2 separate regions of the Homo sapiens genome follow, and region 2 is linked to region 1. The links are contacts of gene promoters, found by promoter capture Hi-C in blood cells and fetal thymus (Javierre and others, 2016). All regions are on one chromosome and are shown on one strand. Each heading gives the region's core, a stretch centred on a gene start or on the middle of the fragment in contact. The rest is flanking DNA. Distances are from core to core; before and after follow the strand shown.

Region 1 (3,274 bases), core at 345-2,844:
TGGGACTGTCAGGTTCCCACGGGTTGCCTGAGCTCTATTAGGTGGGCGCCTTAGAGTAAATTGTGTGAAACCAATACAGCCTATAATGCAAAAGATTGAGCCGTGAGTAGATTGATGCGTCTAAAGAATCAGTGAACAAAAATAAGTGGCCATAGTGACCTCAGTTAATCATTGAAGTCTGAGGTGCCCAACAATGATTTTTAAAATCCCTGCACTGTCCTTGGTCCCCGCTCTGTGACACTGGCAGTCACCCAGCCACCACTTGACGGCAGCCATTTGGAGTCCACATGTACTGAGTTTCCAAGCCAGAACTTCCTCAGCACTCAGCCAGAACACAGCCTTTCTCTGGGGGCCCAAGACAAGGAGAGCAAAGGTCTTCTCACTTCTTTATCTGGGGAAGAGATGAGTGATTCCTGTCCCTTCCCCCAGTATAGAAAACACCCTGTACCCCAAAAGAAACATGGCACAGGGGCAGCCAGGAGTGAGCCCCTTGGAATGGCCATTCTGATCTTAGGCAGGGACTGCTGAGGACAAGCAGAGGATGCCGACTCTGGGACAAAATCACAGGCGGAGGGGCTCCGAAACAGGCCCTAGCCGCTCTGGGGGTGCGGGTCTCCTGCCCTAGGACTCTCAGGCTAGAAAGTCCTCAGGACTCAGGACTGCGCAAGGGCTGACAAGGGAACTGGAATCCCTTAAATCCCGCTTTCCTGCCTGCGCAAGGGGCTACCCCAGCACAGTCTTGGGGCCCTGTCCACATGGGACAGATCATCCAAGGTGACAGGTTTTCCGACTCCCGCGTGGGCTCTCCAGGATGTGTGGGTGGGCACACGCGGCCCGCTCAGGTCCGGGAGAGTCGGCCCGCGGCTCTGGAGCGTGCATCTGCGATGCCAGTGAACGAGGTGATTACACACAGCCGGCGCTCAGCTGATTCTCCAGGTCGGGTCTCCGCGAGGCGGCCACTGGGCCGTGGAGCCGCAGGCAGGTCCCCGCGGCTGTGGCCAGGCCAGGGCCCGGAGGCGAAGGGCGGGCGGGAACTGGGGCCAAGCAGGTGGAGAGAAAGAGTTGAGCAGCACGGCGCCCCTCGGGCAGAGGGGCTCCTGGCCAAGGCCCCAGCGACACTTGGCAACTTCTCCCGCGCTCTGGGTTCGCCGCCGCGTCCTACCTGAGGCCACACCCTGAAATCAAAATCGCGGTCAGGTGAAGCCGGCGCTGCACCAACGTGTAAGCGCGGCCCCTCCTCGGCGTTCCCGCGCCGAGGTCCCTCCCGCGGAGGGCGGGCCCGGCTCCCACGACCTCTTCGAGCGTTCCTGGGCTTCCCGCTCCGCAGGTGGGTTCCCCGGCTGCCCCGGAGGTTCGCGGCGAGAGGACGGGCCTCCCAACACGCGCAGCCCCCTTCCTGGGTGCCCATGCCCCGAAGTTCGGGACCAGCCGGCGCCAGGCGAGGGGCCTTGGGCGCAGGCATCTGGAGCTCCGCGTCCCTGGAGCGGGACCTCCCTCCGCGGGCGCCCGCCCGGCGCGGGGCATTCGCGTCCCCGAGAGGGCGCAGCAGTGGGGCCTGCGAGCTGGGGCCGGGTGGCCGCGCCGGGTCGGAGTGTGGCTGGAGAGGGGCCGCCCCGGAAGCGGTGCTGCGCCCAACGTCCCCTTCTCCCCGTAAGCCCCGCAAGGAGCCTGCCGCCTCTTGCACCTGAGCCAGGAGTTCAGTCGGGAGGCGGGCGCGGAGCGGTTCCCAGCGCCTGGACGTCAGCCAGTCGCAACACCCGCGGGAACACTTGCTACATTTGCCATAATGCATTTCTGATCTGTTTCCGCGCAGGCCTGCGGAGGACTGGCCCAGCAAGGTCCCAGGTCTTCCCTCTCCTCAGCGCCTAAGAGAGAGGCCCAGTGCGGGTGAGGAGTCGCGAGGAAGAGGCGGAAGGCGCCGGAAGGTGAGTGAGCGAGCGGCCCCCGGCCCTAGAGCCTTCTGCACCCATTTTGAAGAGCAGGCAGGGAGGGACAGTGGGCAGGCAGGTGGCCCTCCTGGGCTGGCTCCTTCCTGGTACTGCTAGGCAGCGGAGGTGGTCCCTTCCAGGTGCCGTCTCTCGATCCTTAGTGGGTGCATGTTAAGTCACTTACACCACTTTGCCCCATGGCCCCACGGTAGGCTGGTAGACGTCAAGACCTCAAATGGCCCGCCCTGCCCCCGGGCCCATCTTCAGGTCTGATGCCTGTCCTGGGTGAGGGTGTCACCGCGGCAGAGTGCAGGGAATTCATGCCGGGGAAGAGGTTCCCAAACAGGAAGGGTGGTGGCAGGCCCAGTGGCTGTGCAGGGCAGGGTGGGAGGCAGCCGTGGGAGACTCCCGCAGGAGTTACAGGTGAAGCTGCCGCTCCACACATCCCAGCCCACCGCTCATTCCCCAGATCTCCAGACCTGCTCAGGTGGCATCCGATCTGGAGTGTAGGTGCTGCTGGGAGCACTGGAGGCTAAGCCATGAAGAGCTCCCAGGGTGTAGGTTGCGTTTTCTGTATCTTGCCCCATTCTGGTGGTTTTTTGGGGGCTTTTCTGACTTGTTTTTCTGGGTGAAGGGGGCAGAGGGGCTCAGGTCTGTGTCCATGCTCGTTTTTGGTGGCCGGTGTGGCATAGGTTGCCGCATTGGATAAGAAAACGCCTGGTTCCATGCAAGGTGAGGTTCAGCCTGCAGTGCCATGAATTCTCCTCCATAGTATATAGGACAGTGGCCGAAGACACATTTGGAACCGAAGAGAGTGGGGTTTGAATCTATCCAGACTTTGCCTTTGACTCCTTAGACAAGTTGCTTCACTTCTCTACAAACTTATAAATGGCCTCATCTGTAAAATGGGAATGCGAATGCCTTCCTCCTCATTAGGCGGTTGTGGGGAGTAACTGCCTCATCAGCCTCCAGCTGCTATGTTGGGAAGGGCTAAGCCACTCCAAGTTCTCCCATCCTGGAGAGCTTTGAGGGCAGTCTGGCTGTTTGGCAAGCTATTGTCAGAGGGTATTAGAGCAAAGCAATAGGAATAAAGTAAAGGTAGGGGTCCTTGGAGGGCGAGTAGTGAGAGACCCTAATTCAGGGTCTCTGGACCTCGTGGTGACCCAGGGAAGGGGCCATTCCTGGAAGAGGATCTGGCTTGGGCATCAGAAACAGCAGCGCCCCCTGCACATCACACATGTTCATGTGTTCATGGGTGACCCTGGAACCTCAACTGTTGCCTGGGATAGAGGGAGCCTCTGGCTTGAGCTTCCAGTCCCATCTCTGTTCTGCATAGCTGTGTGATC
Region 2 (3,274 bases), core at 377-2,876, 450 kb before region 1:
AACGACAGGGAAGGAGGAAGTGAAGAGCTCATCTGGGTCAGATGTTGCCTTGGCACTCTACAATGATTATTTCTCCCTGTTCTGTTCCTCCTCTGTGTCCAAAATTAAGAGAGAACCGCAGCTGTACAAACAGACTGAAAAGGAGACTGGCCACACCTGAGTTCCGGAGTCTTCCTCGGAAGGAAACCATCTTTGTCAGATTCTTGCCAACCTTTTGGGCAGAGTCACCTTTCCAAATCAGGCCTTTTCAGTTTGATGTTTCCAAAGGACCCAGCTTACACTAACTCTCCATTTTAAAAATACCTTTTAATTCCTAAAGTTTGCATAAGATGATTTTTTCAATATATTTGACTCATACTGGTTGTTACATAGCACCTTTCATGTGAGATCATAGGGAAGAAAAAAAAACTACAGCGCCATAGGCATCTCTCAGGCATCTCCCCCGTAAGCTTCTCTCTCATTTGTTGAGAAAACACAATTTAAGGTGAAAGACAGAGCGAAGACTTTTCAGTGTTTTCCAGCCAACACTGACCCTGACTGGAGGGTGCAGGTGTATCTCTCTGAGGCGTTGGTGATGCCAAGGGAAAATCAGAATTATCAAGGACAAAATATCTCCCTTACTCCCGGGCACATCTATCGCCATGTGTACCATAGGTGAGGAATCGTCATTCCTTACCTACATCCCAATGAAAGGGACGAAGGGTATCAGGAGAAACAGTGAGTCATATGACTGGGGCTTCCAGAGAAACAGTGTAAGACACCAAATCCCTACCTTCTCAACAGAAAATGTTTGACATGTTTAAGTTCATCAAACAGGCATTTTCTCTGGAGCCACCATGCTCCATCATGATCTTGGAATTCCCTTAGAGTGCTCCTGCTCCCTGCTCCTGTGAGCTCTGAAAGTCTTCTCTCTGTGTGTTCTCTGCAGAGCCCAGGGAAGTGAGGCATCCTCAGAAAGTGCACATGGGGTACCCACCTCAAGACCCATTCAAAACTGCCCAGCTCTTGTCCCCACAGAGAATAATGTGGACTTCACTAAGGACATGGATCACTGAGATGGATACATATACTCCCTCAATAAAGAGGACACTGGATTTTATGTAGATTTCCCTATCATTCAAAAGCATCTGGCCCATATTGGAGGAATCAACTCACACTGAGTTGCAAGGAGATCATACAATCACATGGCCACAGCATTCCCACACTCTGGTGGGAATATGGAAGCTCCCCGTTGCTTCCAAGAATTTACAATCCTTGCTAGGAATCCACCTTTGGAAAAATGCTCACTTTATTGTTTCTGCTCATCTTCCGCTCCACCCTGCCTACCTTGGGCACCTTTGTCTGGATCAGCTCTTCTGGGGTGTTGCCCAAGGGGGGAAGCAGCCGCTTCTTGCTGTTTCGGGTCTCTGAGAGCCACTGAGGAGGCAACTCAAAAGGCCCAAAGCCAAACTGCAGGGAATACTTATCAGGGAATGTTTCAGGTTCCACAGGGGCTGCCGGTGCCACCTGGGATACAGAGTCCACTGTGCTCAGGGGTGGGGCAGAGGGCGCAAACTGTGGCCCCTGCTCTCCCTCCAGGCAGGTGCTAAATATCTCCTTGGCCTGGAAGTCAGCTGAGCCAATGTACTTGGCCTCACTCTCTTCCTCATCCTCTGTGGGCTTAAAGATCTGCTGCTGCCCAATGTGGAACATCTCCAGGAGCTGGCTACCCGAGCGTATGCTGGGTTCCAGGCTGGCCTCAGCCATGCCACTCCCTGTACTGACCACATTACGGCGACTGTACCGGTGGTGTAGTTGCACCAGGGTCCCTATCAAGCACTTGCGGACAGATTTGTTCACAGTAAGAAAGAGAACAGGGTTTGCCAGCAGGGAGACTTTGGGCAGCCAAACAGCAGTGAGCAGCAAGAAGACGGAAGTGTCAGGGACATTGAGCACAGTCTGGTAGACGACCAGGGTGGCATAGGGCACGCTACACAAGATGAAGACCATCACCATGGAGAGCAGGGTGGCGTGCAGCTCGGCCTCCCGCTGGGAGGCATAGGGAATAGAGATGGTGTTCTGTGGGGTCCGGAGCGCTGCTATGATGACCTTCTTCTTCTGGCTGGCACTCAGGGCCCGTCGGATCAGTATCAAGAAGAGGAACACCACCACCACAGGCACAATGACCGTGGTGATGTTATACACCAGAACGTACACCAGGTGGCCCAAGGAGTTGCTCCAGACTTCCGTGCAGGTGGACGTGGCATAGATGTCAGCCACATTGGTTACTGCAAACACAGGGACACTGGCCACCACTGCATGGGCCCAGATGTACATCACCAGTTCACGGGACTTGGCATCAGATATTTTCCTCTCCAGTGGATAGAGGACTGAGTAGTACCTGCAAGATACACAAACAAAATTAATTCCACAGAAGATACTTTTTAAATTAGGGGAACCTAAATCACCAAAAGTAGATGAGAGGGAAGAAAGGTCAAGTTCTTCTATTCGGCCTAAGACAGAAAAGCACTGGGGGAATCCAGGAAGCCAGACCTAAGTTTTGAGGACTTTGCAAGTACAATAAGAAGCGTCACTAGACCAAAAAATAAAAACCTTTCCAAAGGAGCAGCAAACCTGTCCTCATGAGGCTTTACAGGAAAACAAGTAAATAATTTCAATTCATAGCTAGCTTTATAATTATTGCTACCAGGATGAAATCGCAAACAGTACCCTCCATATAAAAGATTTCTCCATCTGCTATAAAGATATCTACTTTTCAATTTGAGGGTAAAGGGTAATTGGTAAACAATTTTATATGGGCTAAAGAAGCTTTAGGGCAATTTTCAAAGCTACCAACAGAAATAAGTTTGTCTACACACATATCTAAAGCAGACTTATGCCACAGTCCAGATATCATTAACAATTAAAGTTGTTCAGGGCAGAAGAACCAGTATGAAGAATGGACTCCGACAAGGTCCTTCCACAAAAATCAATTCAGCTGACAAAAGTTATGCCTGCTCAACAGTCATTGCTCCCATGATAATCACTCAGTAACCCTAAGGGCAATTAATAGGTCTAAAATGCCTGCACAATTAGATTTTTGTTAAAATCAGATGAGACATTGTTTTTCCTTCCAATATTTAACTTGATCATTCTGTAAGCACCTAAACAGAATTCCAAAAGCATGCCGTTTCAATATCACCAGTGATTTGAGGGAACTGAATAACTCTTTGCACCCTAGAACCACATCTGTAGTAAAAGGGCTGCCACTAGCTCTCAGAGATATGGTCAGTTT

The links. The method cuts DNA at HindIII sites, captures the fragments that hold promoters and counts their contacts. A CHiCAGO score of 5 or more calls a contact.
Region 2: a fragment that was not itself captured here is called in contact with the fragment with the promoter of PAK6-AS1 in region 1 in 7 of 17 cell types (naive B cells, total B cells, activated CD4 T cells and 4 more); the score reaches 10.5 in naive B cells.

What each region holds. Positions count from the first base shown.
Region 1 is chr15:40,251,365-40,254,638 of GRCh38, forward strand. PAK6-AS1 (PAK6 antisense RNA 1) reads right to left here and starts at 1,595. Exons shown (of 2, transcript NR_168270.1): 1 at 1,294-1,595; 2 at 1-1,175. It overlaps BUB1B-PAK6 (BUB1B-PAK6 readthrough), which reads left to right. Exons shown (of 10, transcript NM_001128629.3): 2 at 1,814-1,925. PAK6 (p21 (RAC1) activated kinase 6) reads left to right here. Exons shown (of 11, transcript NM_001395430.1): 3 at 1,814-1,925. RefSeq lists a silencer at 1,577-1,666. The HindIII fragment of the contact is 18,506 bases long and covers 1-3,274 here.
Region 2 is chr15:39,799,875-39,803,148 of GRCh38, forward strand. GPR176 (G protein-coupled receptor 176) reads right to left here. Exons shown (of 3, transcript NM_007223.3): 3 at 1-2,380. The coding sequence ends at 1,258. Among named protein-coding and RNA genes, the nearest start is that of FSIP1, 19 kb to the left of the region's middle. The HindIII fragment of the contact is 2,359 bases long and covers 448-2,806 here.